Linked DNA regions of Homo sapiens: region 2 is linked to region 1. The links are contacts of gene promoters, found by promoter capture Hi-C in human tissues and cell types (Jung and others, 2019). All regions are on one chromosome and are shown on one strand. The core of a region is centred on a gene start or on the middle of the fragment in contact, and the rest is flanking DNA. Distances in the headings are between cores, read along the strand shown. Region 1 holds the start of ENDOU (endonuclease, poly(U) specific). Region 2 overlaps SLC38A2 (solute carrier family 38 member 2).

Evidence for each region. The method cuts DNA at HindIII sites, captures the fragments that hold promoters and counts their contacts. A contact is called where the count stands out against the background at its distance.
Region 2: a fragment that was not itself captured here is called in contact with the fragment with the promoter of ENDOU in region 1 in 1 of the 25 tissues and cell types used here (dorsolateral prefrontal cortex).

The regions. Positions count from the first base shown.
Region 1 is chr12:47,722,747-47,729,857 of GRCh38, reverse strand. It overlaps ENDOU (endonuclease, poly(U) specific), which reads left to right and starts at 4,368. Exons shown (of 10, transcript NM_001172439.2): 1 at 4,368-4,499. The coding sequence starts at 4,445. RPAP3-DT (RPAP3 divergent transcript) reads right to left here. Exons shown (of 4, transcript NR_183480.1): 4 at 1-971. RefSeq lists silencers at 2,709-2,768, 3,734-3,853. The HindIII fragment of the contact is 12,082 bases long and covers 1-7,111 here.
Region 2 is chr12:46,362,411-46,369,521 of GRCh38, reverse strand. It overlaps SLC38A2 (solute carrier family 38 member 2), which reads left to right. Exons shown (of 16, transcript NM_018976.5): 5 at 2,182-2,255; 6 at 2,354-2,446; 7 at 2,577-2,658; 8 at 4,333-4,415; 9 at 4,820-4,878; 10 at 4,966-5,133; 11 at 5,519-5,598; 12 at 5,696-5,796; 13 at 6,377-6,501; 14 at 6,884-7,028. Among named protein-coding and RNA genes, the nearest start is that of SLC38A2, 6.8 kb to the left of the region's middle. The HindIII fragment of the contact is 4,962 bases long and covers 1,867-6,828 here.

The sequences.
Region 1 (7,111 bases), core at 3,119-5,618:
CCATCTTCACTGAGTCTTTAATATCAAGTGGGGCTGGAAGACTGACCAGTGCCCTGATTCATTTACATATTGATTCATTGCAGGTCTCAGGCACAGGTTGATAATTATCTAACTGTTTAGATTCTAACACACATTGGATGGCAATACAAAGGGCCCATGAGGCAGGGTCCCCTTCTCAAAGAACTTCAGAGGAAAAGTTAAATGGCAGTGCAGGGGTTAACTGATACCATGTTGGCAGCAACAGATGTTGGCAGTCAGAGATGACTGTGCTGTGTCAAAGGCACACAGGACAAATATGCACAACCAAGCTCCTAGGCAGGAGAGATCCTGTGGGCTGAAGAGAGGTCAGGCTTTGTGGAAGAGTGAATTTGCCCTGGGGCCGGAGGATGAGTAGGAGCTGGACAGCTGAGCAGGGAGGGTGGGGGAGGGTGTTCCAGGCTGAGGACCAGCATGGGGTGTGGCTGGCAGAACTAGAAGTGCAGCATGGGACTATGTGATGAGTGGGCCTAGTTGGGAGGTCTGACGGATATGCTCAGCCCAGGCATTGAGTGTGATGCTGATGTCAGGGCTGCCCACAAACTTAAACAAAAGCCTGGGAACACAAACGTGGTATACACCATACTAACCAATGTGGGAAAGAAATCACACATGGAGCCGCTTCTAAGACACATTCAATAAGAGCAGACATGGGTGACCATCCTGCGCTTCTATCCTGTGGGCCAGGGCAGCACTCCCAGGAGAACCAGCATCTTCATGTGCCAGGGTCCCCTTGGGAGGTGAGTCTGGGCCTCTCCTGTGATGGGCCAGCTGCAGGGTCCTTCCACACGCAGGTCCTCTGCTGAAATGACGTGGCCTTGGTTTTGCAGGAGAACGAGGATGGTAGAATAGGCTGGCCTGGGCAGGTGTCCCTTTTAGTAGTCCTCTGGGTCAGTCTCTCTCAAGGCCTGTTGATCCTGACAGACCCCAGACACCTGTGGTAGCCCAGAGATGAATGAGGCCTACTTCAAACAATGCCCTAATGCTGAGGCTTATCTGGCTTCTGTCCCACCAGAAACCAATCAGTTCCAGGAAGAGTTTTCCAGCCTAGCCTGAACCCTGCCAGTCCAATAACAGCATAGCCCCTGATGTGTAGTGAGCACTCGATAAATATTTGGCTGATGGAATTCCCACCCTCTATGTCTCTCACAGCTGAGTGCCTCCCAAATCCTTGCCCAAGCAGCCTCACCCTCTTCCCCACTCTCCAGACCTCCACAGAGGACACAACTGCACCATCTCTGTCGCTATTCTCATCATTGAGACACCATCCACCATGCATCTCCCTCCACTCTCTCCCTACCCCAGCTCTCCAGGACCCAGCCTACCACAATTCCCAACTTGCTGGCTGGTCCCACTGTGGCTTCTTGGGAAGTCTGCAAGGATGGAAAGCCCATGTGAGTACCTAATGGCGGGGGGTACTCAGAAAGAGGAGCCGCAGAGTTCTTGGTCCACAACAGGCTAGCAGGGAAGAGAAAGCTGCCTGAAATCTATCTTAATGTATCTCTCTCTCTCTCTCTCTCTCTCTCTCTCTCTTTTTGTGTGTGTGTGTGTGTGTGTGTGTGTGTGTGTATACACACATACATGGACATCTAAGTTTATGAGGCATCTTTGCATGAATATGTATTGATATATTTTCATTTATTGGCTTAATGGATTTTTTCTGCCTTTGTCAGCATGTCTTCGGTTATAAAATCTGGGGTTTGGGAATCCGATCTGCGAAGAGGGCGTATGAGCAGCCGTGGGAGGGCATATCCCAATTCCCCACCCCTCAACCCTCAGCACCAGAGGCAATGAAGGAGAGGCAGGACAAGCACTTAGGGTTGTTTAGGGAGTTGTGACATCCTATGAGAAGTGGAACTAGATGGCAGTTGAGGTCCCTTTAATTCCAGTGAATTTAAATCTAGACTGCTTTGTATAGTAACCAGACATGATTAAGTGGTCGTTCAAAGTGTGATGTTGTGGGGCAATGGAGCAACGGTGCTTATGAGAATGACCCCTGGTCAGATGGATCTGGGTTGAGGCACAGCTGCATAACTTAATGATTGTGTGCTTCTGGGCACGTCTCCTAACCTTTCTGTGCCTCAGTTTCTTCATCTGTAAAATGAGGACAGCAATAGTACCTATTAAGGTTGTAGTGAGAATCAATGAGATAACACATATGATAACACACGTGGTAAGTGCTCAGTCAATGTTGCTGGTGGTTGTTAAGGCTGTTATTCTTATTGAAGGATGCAGTTTTAAACACTTGGGTACTCAGATGAACCATCTGGCTCTATGGAGTCATCCTTAACTGTCTTCCCCAGCTCCAATCCTTGCTCCTGACCTAAAATTCCATTAATGGGGGGAGAGCTCCTGCCCTCAAAACACCATCCCATGGCCAGTTCAGCTGGACACTAGGAGAACCTAGCCAGGCTGTACTCCACTCTGACAGCTTTGGCTTCAGCTAGGGTCCACCCAGCTGGACACTTGGAAGGGACAGACCATTCATTCCCAAATTCTGAGGCATCATTGCTTCCCAGGCCAGCCAGTGACACCCTCCTTTGTCCCCTAAACAACAGGAGTCAGAGACACGTTTATGTGGTGCCAACCCAGGGAGGATGAGGATTCTGAGGGGCAGTGACTCTTCAGCCTGCTTTTGGATTGTGTAAATGAAATCTATGCAAATGAAGCAGCCATTTCTGCTCTTACTCATTCTAACCAGCTCCCTTCTGGGAGAGAAGGGCTAGGCTCACTCTTTAGTTGTGCTTCCGGGCTGGATGCAGTGGCTCACACCTGTAATCCCAGCACTTTGGGAGGCCAAGGTGGGCAGATCACCTGAGGTCAAGAGTTTGAGATCAGGTTGGCCAACATGGTCTCTACTAAAAATACAAAAATTAGCCAGGTGTGGTGGTGCATGCCTATAATCCCAGCTACTCGGGAGGCTGAGGCATGAGAATTGCTTGAGCTGGGGAGATGGAGGTTGCAGTGAGCCGAGATCACACTGCTGCACTCCAGCCTGGGCGACAGAGAGAGAGATTCCATCTCAAAATATATACATACATTGCACTTCCTGTGTGAGCCCCTTGCAAAGTTTGCTTGCCCTAGGCTTGTCCTTCTCTCTACCCCTGAGTCCCTATGTTTGGACTCCTCTCTACACAGCAACAGGCTGGGGGATTCTCTTTAACCCACCAGCAACTGTTCAACCTGGCGCATGGGCAGGAAAACTCGAGATTAAAGTCTGAGAACCTGGAAGGGATTGTCAGATCCAACCCCATCATTTCAGATGAGAAAGCTGAAGACCAGCGAGAGGAAGAAACTTCTCCTGTTAAAGCACACTGGATGAAGACGTGCTCCACTCCCAACCTCCAGAAAAAAATCACTGATAGAGTGGCCTCCACTGTTCACCAATTTTGCCTTTTTATATGATAGTTTTCTTTCCTGAGAGGGTTGAGAATCCCCATGCAGTGCTCTTTCTGGCAAGGGCATCATACTTGGCAGATTTTACCTTTATTATCGGGGAAAACTGGACAGTCACGGGGAGCTGCTCCCCTTCTTTTGGACTTGGAAACAAAAGAACCTCACTGGGGAGGAGTTCCTGAGGAGAGGAGTGTAAGTTGGGGTGAAGGGAGTGAAACCCTGGGCTCCCAGGGGAAGAAGAGTGGGCCTTCGGCTGCCTTTAAGAGGCCTCTTGCCCCTCCCCTGCCTCATAAGGAATCTGAAACGTTTAAACCCCAGAGGCTGACTCAGTAAGAGTCATTTGCATAATATTTTAGAGTGATTTAGCCATGCGCTCGACATGTGGCTGATTTAGCTATGCTGGGCTTGGTGGTCATAAGAATAGCACTGGTTCTGACCGACACATCCTCTATCTCTCTGTCCAATGACCCCAACCCTTGCTTGGGCACTTACTGTTTGTCAAATTTGGACCAATCACCTTACTGTGTGCCAGTGTCATGCTAAGCTCCAGGAATTTGAAGATGAATCCAACCTGTGGCCCCTTGGAAAGTCAGGTCTGAGACTTGGAAGTAGGTGTCTGTTTGGTGGGGATCACCCAAAGATCAGCCCATGGGTGTCCCTAATTTGGACAAAGAACCCTCCAAACTGGACCCATCTTGGTGTGCCTGCCTGCATGACCTATTTTTTAAGCTGCAAACAGCTAGCATTACCTGTTCTCAACATCTGGCATTACCTACCTTCTTAGTCACCTTCCCTCAGGCTTCAAACAGCTGTAGGGCCCCACCTCCTATCCATCTAGGGTCCCTCCCTCCCCTTTTTCTTCCTGAAAGGATCTGGAGACACCAGCTCCACAAGTCCTGGTGTCTTTAAAAGGATCAGCTTGAGGAATAAGGCTCGTCTGAGAGCTGTGACATTCATCTGACTCTAGTGAAAGTCCAACAGCCACTCCCTTTTTGGCCTCCAACTGGGCACCATGAGGGCCTGCATCTCCCTGGTATTGGCCGTGCTGTGTGGCCTGGCCTGGGCTGGTAAGTCACTATCTGGCGGGCATGGGATTGCTGGTGGGGCGGGATCTTGCCTAAAGAAGCAGAGAGTTGGAGAACTTGGTAGAGGGCAGGGCCGTGGGACAAGGGAGGGTGAGCTCTGTCCTAAAGCCGCAGAGCACTTTTGGGTTGTCCTTGTCTGAGGGTGCAGGCGTTGGTCCCGGAATGGACTGGACTATGTGGAGAGAGTTGCAGGGCTGATGGTCTGATTTCATGGAATTCCCTTCTTGACACCTTGGAGGATCAGCCCCAAATATCCCTTAGTCCAGCCTGACTTTTGATCTCCCCAAGATTTTGTTGTCTGGGGCCACTGTAAGGAATAAAGCTAGGGCTGGTGTCCATGGGGTCTGAGTGGCCTGGCTGCCCTTGGTCACTCCTTCCACTGCCTGGTGACAGGTGAGGTTGTTTAGGGTGTGATGTTACTTTGGGTAGAGCCTTAGGAGGTGGGCAGGCTTAGGAGGAAACTGAAAGGACCTTTGACCAGGAGGTGGGCCTCGTCCTATCTGGGGCTGTACAGGGGTCAGAGGAATGGATCTCTGTTGCAGTGTTAGGAGAATTGAAGAATACAGAAGGGACCTGGCCCACAGTTATGAGAGGTCCAGGGGATGGGACTGGCAGAGGAACAGGACCATGTTCCTGTTTAGTAACTGTGCAAAATGCTGGTGCTGATGGGTTAATTGGTAGCTAGTGGGTGGGTGGGAAGGAGTGCCAAGGGAGGGGCTGAGCTGAGGAGTGTGGGGAGAATCCTCCTCTGCCCACAGGAGAAAGAATCCTTCCACTGGGTTGCTCCTGTGTAGGACTGTGGAAAGGATTAAATGAAATAATGTATGAGAAGCACCTGGTGCAAAGTGAGATCTCAGTGAACTGGAAATTCGCTATGATTATGACTATAAATTTTCTTGGGAGAAACTTCCGCTTGGGGTCATTTCCAACTGGGTTGTGGAAAGGAGACCCTTATGGGATTTCTAAGTGGAAAACCCCTGGAAGAGGAAGTTGTGCCTCCCAACCATGGATGAGATAGTGCATCTTACCAGAAACCAGCTCTGCCTGGGCCCTAGTGGGTGGAGAGGCAGTGGGAGAGCATGAGGGTGGGCCTGGGAGCCACCAGCCTCAGCCCTGTTGGTTGGGAGGAAGGTGGAACTTGGGGGCTTAATGTGTAGGGGTGGCCAGCGGGCTTGGCATATTCCAGCCTTAGGGAAGGAGAGCAACTCTGGATATTTGGTCCCTGGGGGGCAGAGGTAGCAGTGGCTTTAGAAGTGCAGGTGGAGCTCTTGCTGCTAGGTCGGAGGGCAGTATCTGCTTTGGCTGTGGGATCGATGGGGAAGTGAGGTCAAGTGTATGAGGCTTCCTAAGGTGGCAGGGAAGAGGCTCTGCACTTGTTGATACTATCCCAACATCTCAGAACTGAGAGGCAAGAATATGAATCACATGGGGAATCACTGACAGCCTCAGGTCCTCCTTTATGAGCTGGATGTCTGTGGAGAACCTTGGTTGATTTTTTTGGTTGTGAATGGAGGCAGGAAGCTAGTCCAAGGGGTGAGGCTTCTTGGTTGACTAGGTCTCCATGGAAACAGCATCTGGGGCCTTCTAACGGTACAGATGTGTAGGATGTCCCAGTCATCAGAGGGGCTGAGCACCAGTGTACAGGGACACTGTGTCCACCCAGGCTTGGGACCAAGCTTCCTTGATGGCCAGTATGGATAGGGAGTGGCTGTTCTGGCATATTGAAGTCTTAGAAAGTGCAGAGAAATTGAGCATTTCTTGGGGGAATGGAGGGAGAATCTGAACCCGAGAGAGGAAAGGCTCAGATGAAGAAAGGCAGAGAGTCAGAGAGGTGAGGCAGAGGAACAAGAGGCACAGGTTACTACAGCAGTGATTCAGGCACCTGGCTTGGGGAGCAAGGCTTACTCAGAGTGTTGGTGTTAATGGTGCAGTGTGGGGATGCTGGAGTGAGTTGTTAGGGTGACTAGTTACTCATCAGAGTGTCCCCAGAATGTCACAGCAAAGTGCCTATGAGGAAAAGTTCCTCCCACCCCTGCACTCCACTGTCAAATCCCAAGGTCACCTTGAAGCAGACTAAGTGCACAGAGAAATGTGAGAAAGTGCTGGCATGGGGCTCTTGCTGGAGACAAAGTTCTTGAGCAGAGATGAAAAAGCCCACTCAGCTTGGGCCGGCGGGGGTGCTCTCCTGCACGTCCAGCTGACTGCTCGCTTGCAACCCTTCTCAACTGGTGCCAGCTGCTGGAATGAAGTGAATTCTTTCCCTGGACTCTGCTGATTTGGCCCATTAAAAACATTGCCCTGATTTGCCTGAATTCTCTCCCTTTGGATTCTGGGTGTACTGCCAGGCTGACTGAGCAGGGAGCTGATGGGCTGAAAATTTCTCCTTAAGGTCTTTGCATTCAGGCTCCAAGGGAGCATCATTTAACATTCAAGAGGAGTTCCTGCCGGCTTGAAGGAACAAGTGGCCTTGGGCCTGGTCTCTTTTAGGGACTGGAAACCTGCCTTCCTGCCCACCTTGGAGGCCTGACAATGTGAAGTTGTCTGAGGACCCGGGTTAACCTTGACCCAATGCCTCTCTGATGTAAAGAATACAG
Region 2 (7,111 bases), core at 3,098-5,597, 1.4 Mb after region 1:
TTGTGACAGATGTGTTTTACTTAGCTGATTGGTGCCTTCTACTCAAGTTATTTTCTCCAGCACGATAGAATGTTCATGAAAAGAAAAGCAGACCTTTGCAAATCTCTGCTTTGTGAAATTCCACACTGAGGTTAAGCCTGGCTTTGAGTACTAGATGCTAGGATTCACTCTGGCTTGCTTCAATTAGGATGAGGCTTTTTGAGAGAACTCTTACTAAGGTGAAGGACCAGCGATTTACGTAGAATCCTAGAATCTCAGGAGTTCTTAGTGGAGAACCTGAATGGCATCACTGTCGAATATTTGAAATCCTTGTTAGCACTTGGTATAAAAACTGGAGGCAGTTTTAGAGTGCAGCCAGTGTAGTTAAAGTAAGAATTGAAATGATACTAAATGGCACCTCTGTTTCATAAGTGAAGGTCAAATTCTGATGTAACCCTTGTACTCTTGGAATTATACTTTAATAGGTGCTTATGTCATTGATTTACCATTTTGCTTAATGGCTAAATAAGATTGCTAAAGTGTGATTTTATTCATCAGTACTTACTTTATATTTAGAGGTATAGAGGAAAATGGGCCAAAAACCACATGGCTGCCACGGTGCACTTCAGCAACCCTGTAGCTAACCTGTTTAAGTAGAATCAATCTGAAGGTTGAAAGTGACCTCAAAGGTTATAAAGTCTATTCATCCCTTGTCATTTCAGTATAAGACATGGAAGGACTTAATTTGGTTTGTTTTTAATTAAACCAACATATTTTCTCCAGTTAGAAGTGAGGTTGATAGTGTCACTTCAGACTAGGTCCTGTAAAACTTCTGGCATTTAGAATGGTAGTGTAAAGCCACTTCCTCTGTTTAACTAATAGACATCAGTTTCTTTGTCAGCACCTTACATGGTACTGCGTGCAGTTTGTTCATACGGAATTAAAAAACATGTAACTCTTCTCCTTTGCAAGGTTTTCTATGAGTTTCCCTGTTTTGTTATTTAATTTCTTTAAAAAATTAGTCTGTATCTCTGGGCTCTCCTAGGTGGAAGGAAAGTAAAGCTGGAATGAGGGAGAACCCTTACCCTAAAGGAAAATTAGGTGACATTAGGGTCCCTTTAGTCACTCTATGTTACCTTATTTATTTATTTTTTTTCTGTTGCTCAATCCAAGTGAAAGGGTCAAGGGAGGAAAGGCTTAGAGACAGTCAAGCTGATAGCCTACTTGTTCTAGCACAGACATTGTTTAACTGTGACAATAGTGGGCCTGTATTCCTTGCCATGGGGTGCAATGTAGTATGTCATCACAATGGTTAGTTCTCTGATTTGTGCCCAGTTGTTAGTAAAGCTTGTAGTGCCTCTTAAAATGTTAGTATCATGTTAGTGTCATTTCCCCCTTACCATTCTTTTCCTTTTCTTTCTTTTTTTTTTAAAAAGACAGTATTTCATTTTGTCCTCCAGGCTGAGTGCAGTGGCAAACTGCTGGGCTCAAGTGATACCCCCACCTCAGCCTGAGTAGCTGAGACTATAGGTGTACACCACCACAGCTGGCTTTTTGTTTTTCCTTCGGTAGAGATGTGGCTTCCCTATGTTATGTTGTCCAAGCTGATCTCGAACTCCTGGCCTCAAGCAGTCATCCTGCCCCAGCCTCCTAGAGTGCTGGGATTACAGGCATGAGCCACTGCACCTGGCCTGTCATTCCTGTTTTTGTGTATACGGTCCATGTGGTCTTAAAACCTTTCCTGAACGTGTCTCAGTTGAATTTCCCAAGAACCTTGTGGGCTGGGTTTAGTGGCGGATATTACTAATATTTTACAGATAAGGGGAACTACTGAAATGCAGAAAGGTGGCAAGCATACAGCTCATTATTGTGGTGCCAGAATCAAAATACAAGTTTCAAACTCCATCACTGGGAAGTTGAGCTTTCCAGTGTCTCATGCTATGTTTGGCTCAGTGGGTAGACATCCTTGTTCCTAACCAATGCTGTAGAACTATCACCTGAGAAATGATGCAAGTTTTTACTGCCAGCCAAGAGACAGTGTTGCCATTCCAGTTAGTAGGAGAGGAAATGCCAGTTCTTCAGGGCATTTTGACACAAATAGGACAAGTTGCACACATAATGTTATTTAAACATCCAGAAAGAGTTGTCTTTAAATATAGCCATGCTTATTTATAACCCTATGCCTTTTCCTTCTCTCACCAGAATTCTCTTGACATTTGTGTCAATATTTTCCCTGTATTCTGTTCATCTCCTTTTGAAGACTGCCAATGAAGGAGGTATGATAGCATTCTTGATTTTTCTAAAACAATGTATACCTATCATTTTATTTCTCTTTTAAAATCCTTGGCTTCATGCTTCTGTCTTCAAATTGTAGGGTCTTTATTATATGAACAATTGGGATATAAGGCATTTGGATTAGTTGGAAAGCTTGCAGCATCTGGATCAATTACAATGCAGAACATTGGAGGTAAGAATTTTTCAAAAGATTATTTGGGTAGACTTTATGCTCATTGTGGAGCACAGAATGGTGACACATGCGTTTTAGTGTCACGTGCCGCGTTTTGCACTTGTAATGGTATAATTTTGTTTTCCTCCAGCTATGTCAAGCTACCTCTTCATAGTGAAATATGAGTTGCCTTTGGTGATCCAGGCATTAACGAACATTGAAGATAAAACTGGGTAGGTGCTAAGTAAGGTTACTCATAAGAAACAATTATAGTCAAAAGTGGTTAGATACATTTTTATCAAAGTTGTATACAAAATGATTAGTTAATTATCCATAAATGTTCCTTTTGAAACTGACCAAGAAGGCCCCCCATCCCCGTAAACTGATTCGAACTTTGGAGAAGGAAAGGCCGAAAGATAGTAGCTAGCCCTACAATTTTGGATATCTTAATTTCTAAAACAGGTTTTCTAGAACTTGCTTTCTGTCTTTATGTTCATACTTAAAGAAGTTATAGGTGTTTTTAATATATATCCTAAGTGAGGACTGAAGCTTTGAATTACATTAAAAATTAATCCGTCTTATTTTTGTAAGTTTGGAATTCTTAAGACTTAATCTGTTCAATGCAAAATACAGGCTGGACATCCCTAATCTGAAATCCAAAACTTTTTGAGTGCCAACATGACACTACAAGTGGAAAATCCACACCTGATCTCGTGACAGGTGTGCAAAATTAATTAAAATACTGTATAAAATCACCTTTAGGCTATGGGTTTAAGAAGGTGTATAGGAAACATAAGTGAATTTTGTGTTTAGACTTCAGTGCCATCTCCAAGATACTTCAAATATGTATGTGCAGGTACTCCAAAGTCCAAAACACTTCGGTCCCAAGCATTTTGAATAAGGGATACTCAACATGTGCCAGAAAATGTTTGGGCATGCTATAGAAACCATTTTCTTCTAGCAAAGTTACTCATCCCAGTGAACTCACAGGTATTTATCTAAAGTAAACATGGGGAAGGATAATTTACTTCCCACCCTATGTGCAGCTCATTACGTCAAAATAGAGAAGTGCTGTTATCTCAGATGTGGCTTTAGAAATTTAATTTTTTAAGCTGATCTTTAAGTGTTGGTGTTCTGCAGAGTGCTTACTGCTGAAGTGAACAGAATTCATGAGGCAATTAGAATTTGAAAATAGTGATTTAGAAGACAGTGCAATTCATGATTTACCTAAAAAGAAAAAGGCTTAGAGGATATACATAATGTTTTCTAAAGTTCAAAAGGGATATTTTTGGCTGTCTTTGGAGTTAAAGGTGGGTCAAGATGTCACAACATACTCTGATAACCTGGAATAAGTCCTGGTTTGGGGGACTGAGTTTTATAATTTTTTTTATGGGGGGGGCAGTTTGCCTGTGCATTTTATGAAAACGTTTCCTCATTGAAATATTTAATAATATTTGCTAACGCATCTGGAAAAAAACTTGTTTTAAAATTTTTTAGTTTCCAGCATTAGAAATTACATGCTAAAGCTGTACCAAAGTTGGTGTACAATTTTTCTGAAAGTGCTTAAAGATAAGATTACTGGCTTAACAAACAAGCTTTGTTCCCTGCATTAGTATCAAGTCTTTGAGAAGCATTTTGTGTTATGAATCAGCTGGCAGCCTTCCCAGAGCAAGTAGTGGGACAAAAGTTACACTGTTTTATACCCGACTTCTAACCTGAGTAAATGTTCATCTAGCACACAAAATTAAAAAGTTATTCCTATCTTGAACAGGGGAAACTTTTTCCAAACATGTCTTTTTTGTGTGTTTGTTTTCATGGTATTCCTATGAAATGAGTCCTGTTAGAAGATGTGTATATTTTTCAGAGGATATTTGTGACTGTTTTGACCTTGTTTCTGTTTTCTTTAGATTGTGGTATCTGAACGGGAACTATTTGGTTCTGTTGGTGTCATTGGTGGTCATTCTTCCTTTGTCGCTGTTTAGAAATTTAGGTGAGCAAACTCATCTCTAAAGAGAATTGAAATGAGCCTCTCACCAGTTAGTTGGGCTTTCTCTGAATAGAAATTAATCAGAATGAAAAAGCCCTAGAAAGTAGAAAGGTATATCTTTGGGACTTACAGCATGCAAAATTTAGGAGCCAAAATATTTAATTGACACTATATGTTGTGCTTTGTAAGAAATAATGCAAATGATAGTTTTTATTAGCTTGGGTTATGACAAGTATATTTAAATAAATCTATAATTTAGTATCATAAGAATTAGAAATTTAGTGCTATACACATACTTTAGTGCCTAAAGTCTTCCCAGCAGAATTGAGTTATTCAGTGGGAAAAAGATATTTGCCTTAAATCTGTTTCATTAAACTAATACTGATTCCTGCCACCCCTCCTTATAGGATATTTGGGATATACCAGTGGCCTTTCCTTGTTGTGTATGGTGTTCTTTCTGATTGTGGTGGGTATGATTTTTTTTTTAGAAAAAATTTTTTATAAGCCCTGCCATGTCACTTAGTTTAACACATGCAAAATAATATATTTTTAGGTCATTTGCAAGAAATTTCAGGTTCCGTGTCCTGTGGAAGCTGCTTTGATAATTAACGAAACAATAAACACCACCTTAACACAGCCAACAGCTCTTGTACCTGCTTTGTCACATAACGTGACTGAAAATGACTCTTGCAGACCTCACTATTTTATTTTCAACTCACAGGTAACTAAATATGCTTATTTTCTCAAAAGAAGAGTTTAGGGAAGAAAAGAGGGAAGCTATTCACTCCCAGGGTAAAGGGAGGAGGATAATAGGTGCTTTATAGAAAACATGTGATTAGCTAATTATTGAGGACTGTGAAGAAAGTTTTGGTTTACATCTGAAAATAGATTGAGAATTGAGATAATCATATGGTGCTAATAATTGACACATTCAGAAGTGAGGATATTGATCATACTTCATGAACAGATTAGAAGAATGGAAGCTAATTACACAAAGGAAACTTAGGCTTTGATTCTAAGATTGTTTACATAAAATATATGCTGCGGAAATGTGACAGCATGAGTTCGTTACATCAGATTAAGTAGATTTTTACGTTTTCTTTCAGACTGTCTATGCTGTGCCAATTCTGATCTTTTCATTTGTCTGTCATCCTGCTGTTCTTCCCATCTATGAAGAACTGAAAGAGTGAGTATTTCATTTTTACATAAATTTGAGAAAATATTAGACAATTGCTGTAACTGCTGCTGAAATATATATTTGAATTTTCTCTTGAATTACATAGCCGCAGCCGTAGAAGAATGATGAATGTGTCCAAGATTTCATTTTTTGCTATGTTTCTCATGTATCTGCTTGCCGCCCTCTTTGGATACCTAACATTTTACGGTAAGTAACGCCTCCTTTACCAAAACAAAAACAAAAACAAAAAAAAACGCTTATTGAAATGAAGCTGCTAGTTTTCTATGTGTAGTTCCATCACTTTAAAAATAGTCTGTTTTAATATATTTCATATTTGTGATGAGAAATTAAATTTAGAGCTTAGAATTTTCTGTAGTGTATTTAATCAGTAATTTCTAGAATCCAGGTTTGAAAATATCATTAATCATTTGATGGCATATTTGTATGATATGCCAGCCTCTGAGTTCATATTGCCTGTCTCCTCTCCCATCACCTTCAGACTATGTAACACAAACACAAATTGCAAGCCAAGCCAGGAGATTTAGCTGCTTAACTCCTGTTGTTTTTAATGGGAGTCATGTGGCTAAATCTCTGTGGTATTTAGAAAAATTTTCCTTCAATGTTACTTTAATTGCATTAACTATAATTCCAAACAAATCTTATTAGCCTCTTAGTTTATAGTCGTTTTGTGAGTAGCTAAATAACTGGTGCACATTTTGCTGTTAAATTTTCTACTTGGTGTCCAATGAAAACAGCCAATCAAAGTTTTTTTGGTCTTTCCCTGTAGAACATGTTGAGTCAGAATTGCTTCATACCTACTCTTCTATCTTGGGAACTGATATTCTTCTTCTCATTGTCCGTCTGGCTGTGTTAATGGCTGTGACCCTGACAGTACCAGTAGTTATTTTCCCAGTAAGTAATCACTTGCTCTGCTTTCAGTAGGAAGGAGTTTTTAGACATGTGAATATTGGTGAGATTTTCATCTTCTGGAAGAAGGGAAACACCAGTAGAACAATACTAAGTTGGTGGTGGTTTTGAAGGGGCTTTTTAAAAATACAGTGTATATTTTCAAAATACCCTGGGGACATTTTTTTCACCATAAGATATAAAATGATCTTTAAGTGTTCAGATGTTCAGGAAACAGCAGAGAAAGAGGCACAGTTTTATTTAGAAATAGTTACTATTTTGGATAGATTCCTTGTTACTTGGGCATTCTTTTCATTCATTGAAGCTGGATTTTTAAATTTTATATTGCTGCTATTTTTAAAATACATTTTATTTATTTTTTTTGCAGATCCGGAGTTCTGTAACTCACTTGTTGTGTGCATCAAAAGATTTCAGTTGGTGGCGTCATAGTCTCATTACAGTGTCTATCTTGGCATTTACCAATTTACTTGTCATCTTTGTCCCAACTATTAGGGATATCTTTGGTTTTATTGGTAAGTTTTAGAAAGTATCCAAGTGGATTCAAACATCAGGGATTTTAAGATTTAAAGAATGAATGACGAGTGGTTCATTGAAT